Regions from separate parts of the Homo sapiens genome. Here regions 1 and 3 are each linked to region 2. The links are contacts of gene promoters, found by promoter capture Hi-C in human tissues and cell types (Jung and others, 2019). All regions are on one chromosome and are shown on one strand. Each heading gives the region's core, a stretch centred on a gene start or on the middle of the fragment in contact. The rest is flanking DNA. Distances are from core to core; before and after follow the strand shown. Region 1 overlaps FRAS1 (Fraser extracellular matrix complex subunit 1). Region 2 holds the start of FRAS1 (Fraser extracellular matrix complex subunit 1). Region 3 overlaps FRAS1 (Fraser extracellular matrix complex subunit 1).

The links. Contacts are between HindIII fragments. The study calls those that stand out against the background at their distance.
Region 1: a contact is called between a fragment that was not itself captured here and the fragment with the promoter of FRAS1 in region 2, in 2 of the 25 tissues and cell types used here (H1 embryonic stem cells and mesendoderm cells).
Region 3: a contact is called between a fragment that was not itself captured here and the fragment with the promoter of FRAS1 in region 2, in 3 of the 25 tissues and cell types used here (mesendoderm cells, pancreas and thymus).

The regions. Positions count from the first base shown.
Region 1 is chr4:78,209,486-78,212,572 of GRCh38, reverse strand. All of the region lies in intron 2 of FRAS1 (Fraser extracellular matrix complex subunit 1), which reads right to left. Among named protein-coding and RNA genes, the nearest start is that of SNORD161, 78 kb to the left of the region's middle. The HindIII fragment of the contact is 8,399 bases long and covers 1-3,087 here.
Region 2 is chr4:78,055,664-78,058,658 of GRCh38, reverse strand. FRAS1 (Fraser extracellular matrix complex subunit 1) reads right to left here and starts at 1,336. Exons shown (of 74, transcript NM_025074.7): 1 at 574-1,336. The coding sequence starts at 649. RefSeq lists an enhancer at 1,779-2,750. The HindIII fragment of the contact is 7,312 bases long and covers 1-2,995 here.
Region 3 is chr4:78,267,009-78,270,029 of GRCh38, reverse strand. It overlaps FRAS1 (Fraser extracellular matrix complex subunit 1), which reads right to left. Exons shown (of 74, transcript NM_025074.7): 9 at 2,598-2,789. Among named protein-coding and RNA genes, the nearest start is that of SNORD161, 20 kb to the left of the region's middle. The HindIII fragment of the contact is 3,828 bases long and covers 1-3,021 here.

The DNA.
Region 1 (3,087 bases), core at 567-3,066, 150 kb before region 2:
GGTTTGCTCCACACCACTTTCAAAGAAGTAAAAGTCAGGTTTGCTCCCAAATCCTAATATCCTTGAATTCCTATTCTCTGCTTGCCTTAGGACAGACCTTTATTGCCTTTGTGCAGATGATCTCTTCAGACTCACTTCTTTGATTTACCAGCCTCTCCCTTTCTTAAGCTCCTTTGACTTGGTTTTGGGGGTACATGCATAGTCCACATCTTCAGACAAGAGGCACTACTACCCTCAGGCCTACAGAAAGGGAAGACGATGCACAAAATGCAGCGAATGCAAGAGGAAGGAGGTCACAGTAGGTTCCACAGAGAAGGTAACATTTTAGATGAGACTTGAAGGACAAACAAGAATTTGCAAAGGTGACAATTTTCAAATTTTACATACTTTTTATAAGTATTACTTAGCCAGTATTCACTGCAAAATTATTCACAATGGCCAAAATGTGGAAACAACCCAAGTTTCTTCAACAGATGAAAGATGAATGAATGTGTATATATATACATACATATGCATCCAATGGAATATTAGTCATAAAAAGAAATGAAGTTCTGATACATGCTACAACACAGATGAACCTTGAAAACATACCAAATGAGATAAGCCAAACACAAAATGGCAGATCTTGTATGATTCCATTTCTAAAATATCTACAATAGGCAAACTTTGAGAGAGAGAAAGTAGATGAGGGGTTACCAGAGGCAGAGGGAGGGAGAGTGGAAAGTTACTGCTTAATGGTTACAGGGATTCTGTTTGGGATTATTTAAAAAATTGAGAAACATATAATGGTGATGGTTGCACAACACCATGAATGTGATTAATGCCACTGAATTACACAGTTAAAATGGCAAATTTTATGCTGTACATATATTACAACAATTTTTTTTAAAAGAGGGGATTACTTAATGTCAGAACTTTACTTGAGCTCAAGTCCAAGGAAAAATTTGATGAAGTGAAACAATTTCCCAAGCCCCTGGGCCCATGCTGGGTAGTCCAGGTGAAGAGCCCTTGGAAGGCAGCTAGAGGGTACAGGTGCTCAGACAAATGCTTGCCACAACATGGCTTTCCCCATGCCTTCTCCATGGATCTGTGTTAGCCCAATGAGCACATAAGTTCAAAGGCAGTATTTTAGTCATAGCCCCTTCTATTAGGGTGTCAGAATCAGCCTCCTGCCTCCCTGCTTTTTCAATGACAGTATATAAACTTTCACAAGTTGACTTCTTTTTAAAAATACATCGAAAGATGGCATTTCTCCATAAGGTAGATAGGTGCGCCTGTCTTCAGTGCATGGCTCAACAATACTTTTACACATTTAGACAGTGATGCAACCACCACCCAGGTTTCCATAGATAAACTTATCAACACCCAGAAGTTTCCTTCATGTCCTTTCCCTGTCTATAACCCACTCCCTTCTGAAATAACCCTTGCCCCGACATCTATAAATATTTATTAGTTATGTCATGCAATTACTTTCAAATGAAACTTCTCACTATAATTTAAGCACTTAGATATCCACACTGCCTTTCTTTGCCAACAATTACCATCCTTCCCTATGGGGAGGCCATGCTGTCCAACACCATACGCGCACCAGGAGGAGAATGCTCACACCTCAGTGAAGGGAAATGAAGCCTTGGTGGGTGCGGACATGGGGTGCCCATAAACTCCCCACATTGCACAACCAGGAAGAAAGTAGCTTACTGCTTCTTTGGAGGCACTGCCACCTAACAGGCCCTGTGATTTTATAACCTAACAACCATTGATTTCTGCCAGGAGCTCCAACACCTACAATTCCCCTGCTCTGTGATGATTGTATAGATATAGATAATTCACTTACCTTCTCTGTCTCAGATGCTGCCATACCAGGCAAACCTATTTTCCATAATTGTATCATCCTTCTCGTAGACAAGGGCAGGACAATGACACATGAGCCATCCCTATGGCCCCAACTTCTCAGGGCATGCAAGTATCCCTGAGATATGAAAAGCCTGGGGCAGAGGAAGGCAAAGCAAAAGCTGACACTCTGTGGAAGTCAAGAAAGCCCGAAAATATAACTGTCATTTATTACAAATCAGGGCACCTTCGTAAGAGATATGTGTCTACTCACTATGCACCAGACACTGTATTTGGTGCTGAGACTCCAAGTGATATAGACCTAGGCCTGATAGAGTCTGTTGGGAGAATGAACAGTACATTTAAACACAAAGCTTATCACAGTGGCTAATTTACATGCAAGGTGATTCATGCTATCACCAAGGTATGAGTGGCTTAGAATGAGAACACAGAGACCAGGGCCTTCAGCCCAGCTTTGGAGAAAAAGGCTTCTGGGAGGTGGTCCCAGATTAAGTCTTGGAAGCTATTAGATAGATTAAATAAAAGAGAGTTGTGAGGGCTAGGGAAGGGGGAAGGAGGGAGAAGCAGCTGTTCCAGGAAGAGGAAGTGCAGGAACACAGGTCCTGGGGTGTGAAGTGGAATAGCACAGTGTGCTGTGTGCTACCATCACATGAAGGATGAAGGGGACTAGCAAGAGATGAGGCAGGTAAGGAGCTCAGCAGAGGCTGGGTCAACAAGGATAAAGAGCTTAGGCAACTCTGCTATTTGAACCCCAGACAGGACACAGCCTGAGAACCGCAGGAACTCTGGCACAGGGAGCTAAAGAGCACAGAGTCAACGGGCTGTTCTGGCTTTGTCAGTTCATTTGAGAGGCAGGTCAACAGTAAAGAAGGTGAATGAAATTAGCCTCCTTGACGATTTACTTGGGATCAAATACTCCTTTTAATTAAGAGCAGTTATTTTCAAAGGTCAGTTTCAATATGATCCTGCTGCTATGACCCTTTCAATAATAGATAAGTTAGCCAGGGAGATCCTGACAGTTTAAGGATCTGCCCTCAGAACCACAGAACTGCACAAACCTCAGAGAAAAGGGCAGAAAATAGATGGCTCACTCCAACTGGGGACCCAAGGAAAGTATAAGATATAGACTATTGACAGAGGTGTGGGTAGGGTAAAGGAAGCCCCAGGCAAACAGAGATAGCCATTAGCACCACCAGGTCTGAACAGACATAAAGGAGAACAGTTCCAGAACCCAAA
Region 2 (2,995 bases), core at 87-2,586:
GGTTCGTGCTTCTCCGTACTGGAGAGATTTCTTTCAGTGCAACTGAACTGCCCACGACCAGAACACGCTCCAACCAGTTAGTTATAAAATCCTAACTGGACTTTAGGGGGAGACTAACTGAGGTAAGGAGGGCGGGAGAGCGATGGGGCTTTAAGATGAAAGACTGTATGTTTCTTAGGAACAGAAGTATTTTTAAACAGGTAAGAGCAATTGTTCGCTCCTCACCTGTGCTCCATGCAGTTGCTTTCCCTTCGGGGAAAGGTAGGTGGTGGAAAGAAAAAGGATCAGTTTCAGAGATGTCACCTCCATCGGCCACCCACCCACCCAAAAGCACTTAGGGCAGAGAGGGAGGCCGTTTCGGGGGTGTAATCCGAATACAAAACAATCAGGAGTAGGAATCTTATCAGAAAAAGCCTATTCCAGTTTCACTTCCACCTCACCCTTCCCAGAAAAACTTCCACCTCACCGAAATACCATAAAACCTGCTGAGATTTTTAAACTGCACGATCACTCACACATACACACACACACGCACACGCACACACACACACACACGCGGCACCGCTCTCTCACCTTCGGAATGATGAGGCAATACTGCAAATTCCGCCAACGCTAGGGCCAGCCCGAGCCACACTTTGAGGACACCCATCGCCGCCTCGGCACCCACGATGGAGGAGCCCAGCCTTCAGCATCCAAGAAGCGGCTCCGCCAAAACGCTGGCTCCGGCGCTTGGAACCCGGGCGCACTGAAGGTGGGGGACCGCGGGCCTTTACCTCCGGGAAAAAGAGATGGACGGGCGGAGAGCGACACTCATCAGCCCGGAGGCGCCGGAGCGGGCTGGGGTTCAATTCACTCGCTGCTCAGGCAGAGAGCGCGCCGAGTTCCCCCGCAAGGCAGGACGCCAACGTGAGCTTTGGGAGAATAAGAGGAGGCAGAGCACAGTTCTCCGCGTCAAAATCTCGCCGGAAAGTTGCTGGTCACTGGCCGATGGGATCTTCCAGCATTTCCCTCGGGCTAGACCCTTCCGATCCCGGGTCCCCGACAGTGGAAATCCTGGCTCTGGTTTGTCCGAAGCAGCTTTTTAAAGTTCGCTTGGCACCATACGTCGGCGTTGCGTCGGCACCGCGGGTCGCCGGGAGCCCCGAAAGACCCACCCACACCCACTCCTTGGTCGAGCCACCCGGCTCGGCAGACCTCATCTGCCGGGGTCCGCTCGCTGGAAACTGTGCAGCGCTGAGGGCAGCTCCGGGGACTCGCCCGCCCTGCAGCCGCACCGCACCACACCGCCTCAGGCTGCGCTCCCTGAAGCAGACTGTTCGGAAGCTTCAGAGGAAAGACTGGGGGGCGCTGCTGCTACTTTCTCGTCCCCGCCCCTCGCCTGGGTGAGGAGGGCTGCGGGGACGCGGCTTGCTGCACACCAACACCCACCTCCGCGCTGAACACCCCGGAGGAGGTCTGCAGGGTAGAGGTGCAATGATTACGGGAGTGGAAGAAGAGCCATAATTTTAATTGCACGGAGGAAAAAGCTAGCGAGGCTGGAAAAGACCCCCAAACTCAAGGCCACTCTGGCGAGAGAGCCTGGAAACGCCCAAAATACGCCGGGTCTGGACCCCGTGTTTAAAGGACACACGTTCAGCCTTCCTCTAGTCTCCCTTGCCTCCTTCCTCTCTGCTTTGCTCGGTGTGAAAATGGACCCAGAGACTCGGAGCTTTGGCGAAATTCCAGAGAGTCACGTGGGGAAAGGGAGAAGCGAGGAGGGAGGTGAGGGGAGGCCGGGAGAGCAACCTGATCCCTTTATTCATTCTGCTGGAGTTCAGATTGGCTTTGTCTGGGGAGGAATCAAAAGTGCTCATACCGGGGACGGAGGGGGTGGAGATAGGTTGCACAGTTCTTGCTCAGGCACACCGGAAGGCAGATGAACCGTGTCCACATCCCTTGTTAGGGGAGGAACCGATTCGGCGGGCTGGGGGAGCGTGTGCCCACATCAAAGGCCCTGGGGCTACCTCCCACCCCCACAGCCCGCCACTCCTGCTGAACTAAGTGCGTCCGGGGGACCTGATTGATCCTTCTTCCTCGCTCTGGGACCCTCAGGCTGTTGCATCCTGGCTTTTACCAGCAGCCCGGGAAGATCTTGGTGTGTGTGTCCTAGGCGGAGCCTGAGAGCAAATGCACCTTTCCCTTTCCCTAGGAGACTCTGTCAGTGGAACACAACGCGGTCTGGGAGCTGTGGGTCCAGCTGCGCCCCCAGATGCCAATGGCTGGGAAAGTAACATCAGGACACGGCCGACTGGGGCGCGCACTTGAAGAGCAGAGGCCTTGATTCCCCGCCAGGACTGACTGACGGCAGCTATTTTTATAGGACCGAATAAAAATAGCTGGTCCACGTTTAATCGTTTTATAAGGGAACAGTTGCATCAGAGAGATGCTGACTGGGTTCTGATTGGCCCAGAGAAGAAACGTCTCGGGTCCCTCAATTGAGTCGGGATGGGCGAAACTGTTGGAGGGGAAGCAGTTGCATGAGCTGTGCTGGCGGGGGTCCCACTTGTTTCCAGTCTTCACGAACACCATGACGCGGGCCCACGTTCTAACGTGCACTGACGCCACTTGGAACAATTCACTTTTCCGAATAACTGGAATAACTTGAAACTGGCAGGTCCCTGTCAGTGTTACTATTCAGCCAGAACAAAGGAGAACCTCTGACAACCTGGCTCTGAATCTTAAGTATTTGGAGGACCCAGGGTTTGCACATTTCGCCCTCAGTCTCTCTGTTGGGCTGTGGTCATTCTAGGGACAGAGGTTGTATCATCTTTGTATAATTGAAGCACATAGTAGGTGCTCTTTAAACATTTGTTGAAATAATGGATTAAGTGCCTGAGAGCAGCGGCCATATCAAGGGGAGCTGCGGGCCTTAACCTCCTCCCAAAAAAAGACCCCTCCCTTTTTATTTAGAAAGTAGGGCCTGTGCGGTGGCTCACGCCTGTAATCCCAGCACTTT
Region 3 (3,021 bases), core at 522-3,021, 210 kb before region 2:
TCTACCCTTTCCCCACCTAATCATACCTACAGCCACCAGACCAACGACTAAGACTGGGCTAACTTGCTCATTGGAAAAGGAAACACTCTTTTGAGGGAAACTGCCTCCACTGGAGCAGGGAATGGCAGCTCACATTTACCACGCGCCTACCCTCTCCTATGCATTTTGCTCCAAGCTTCAATTTTCCCCATTCCATTTTATGCTCCAGATGTGAATGCTAGGTCCTCTTCTTCAAAAGGTAATTTGACTTCTTCACCTGAATTAAGGTTCAAAGACATCATTAAATCTAGAAATATGAAAATCATTATATTGTGCTAGCCTATCATTGATTTGTTTATGTTTCAATGTTTAGAGATTTGGTGGAATATAGCAAAGACAAAGACCAGGCCATTTTCTTCTTTTTTAACAACAACAAAAACTGTATGCTGATTTTAATGCTATTCAGAACATTGCTGTTGATAACCAGTGTGATAATGAAGACAACGATGAAGCTGCACACCTTTGCCTCTTCTTTTAAAAATTAACTTCTCTGTGGCTTTCTGATGTGCATTGCACTTACACTTAATCCATCCTTGGTATCCAAGATCAGAAATCAAAATGACCTTGATATTTTAGAGAAGGAGGCAGGCAGAAAGTGGGGTAGAACTGAATAAAAATATCAAAAGGGCACTTCCACTGTGCCCCTTGGCAGACATAGTCATTTCCTCCGGGAGCTCCTAATATATTTAACTCATATTTCCATTGGTGCCACACTGTGTTATAATTTTTGCTTACATATCTGACTTCCCAAAAAGCCTGGAAACTCTTAAGGTCATAACGAGCCTTATTCATCTTTTTATCACCAGGGATACAAGCTAAGCCGAAGTTAGGAAGTTAGTACATCCAGGCTTTAACAAGGTCAACAGAAGTATGGCATATAAAGAAGGCTAAGAGATATGTTTCATCAGAGTCAATGTTGGTTAAAATTTCAATTCTGGTAGAGTTTCTAGTTTAGAACCCAGGGCTTTAAACAAAACTTGGGAAACATGGAAGTAATATGGAAGAAAACAATTTAGCTGGTTAAAGATCTGGAGAAATAGGTGAGGCATCAGAACTCCTCAATTCATAAAAGAAAAGATGGCAGTGGAGTGGAAGTAACTAGAAAGGAATGAGACGGTGTTATGGGGTGACTTGAATACTGAAGTGCTCTCCACTTTGGCAGCTAATCCCCATATTCCCTAAGAATAGCCAAGAATGCCTGGCTCATGCCATGATAGCCAGGTGTCACAGCCGACAGCAGCAGACAGGCACATGGAAATGCAGAAATGCTAGGGATATGTGCTAAACAATTTTCTGTGACTGAGACTCTTTGTTCAGATCTGACTGAAATTAGGTGGTTAAAGGGCCCACCCTACCAGAATCTCCTCTCCCACATTTTTTCATAAATTCTAGGATGTTAGATAAATTAAGTCCTTAATAAAATGAGATCCTCTGGGCAGACTGCCGAGGCAGGGAAGCCCAGCCTCAGCCCGACAGAGACAACAAAAAAGGGCCCTGATTAGGTTTTCTTCTCATCTTCATCCAATCACCCTGATTCCTCTAACATAAAGAAAATAAATGAAAAGGCATCTAAGGGGAAATAAATCTGCAAAAAGCAAGACCCTCTTTACCTAAATATGTCTCAACTCTGTCAAGACCTACAAGTAGGAGGCAAGTTGAAAAATAACCCTGCCGATGACAGCCATGTCTGAAAGGTTGTTCCTCCTTAGGCTCAGGGTTAAGAGGAGCTGAGAAGTGGGGGAGAAGAACTAGAAAGAAAAATACCTTCACAGAAACCCAGGGCTCCAGATCTTTCTAATTTCCCTCATCTACTCAAGTTCACGGCCCACAGGGAAATTGGTGGGGCGGAAGGGAGCAGTGAGAGAGACGGAGACAACTTTAAAAGCAATTTGTTTTGTAATGGGTCAAAATCAAGTTCAAAGAGGAAAAAAAAAGTCATTTCCCTCCAACATACAGTACATCTATAGTCCAAACAGAGGCTGCTTTGTTAGAAGCTTCTAGAAATTCTGCAGACAGCAGAGGTTAACAGAGGTCAATGGAGTTAATTGTTTATAAGGTCCCCTTTGCTCTCTCTTAAAAACAAAAAGCATGTTATGTTTTTTCCTGATCCACGGAAGCGGCCCCTCTGTGCTGGCTCTCGTTCTGCTAAATGCTGTCAGTGGGGCCTACAGCAAGAGCCCGGCCACCAGCACACCTGTGGACCCTGTTTCACAGCCGGGGAGAACTGGGCAGGCCATCAGCAATGAGATCCAGCTGCGCTGCCTGATAGGCTAATGTCCCATATCATGTCCTTCCCTTTCATGTCTCTGGCTCGGGGCTTCCAATTTGACCAGATGTACTGAGAGCTAAAAGATCCAGGGGGCTGTTCTGAGCTAGTCTGAACAAACAGTGACATTCATTTTATACCACGGAAGCTTTACACTAGAAGGTCCTATGAAGTGTGAGAAGTCAATGTGGACATCCCTGCTGCTGCCAAGAAGTAAAGAACAGGCAGGACCCCTCACTATCCCGTTGGAAAGAGCTGCAACGTTCCAAATGGAAATGCCCCTGCTTCTTACCCGGGCACACTCCACTTTGGCACACTCTCCAGTCTGGCAGGTCACTTGGCCATGATCACACATGCAGAACTCACAGGCCGAGCCCTTCCACATTTCGTCCTGGTACCGCACAACTCCATCATAGGAGCAGCTCCCGGCAGGAGACACACATTCCTCACAGCATTGCCCATGACGCCGAGCCCTGCTCTGACCCTAGGACACAGAGAGGAAGGTGAGGGGCAGTCCTCAGGAGACGGTGAAACACCCAAGCCAACAGAGGCAGGAGGACCCAAAATACCAAAGCTCTACATGGCTCTTTCTCTGGCCCGACCCACGATGGGCAGGGTCCCTTGCACCTCAACCCTTCTTCCTAGGAAGCAGAGCCTTCATATCTTTATGTAACTTTGCAAACATTATAAAACTTTTGATTCCCCCAAAGGACACA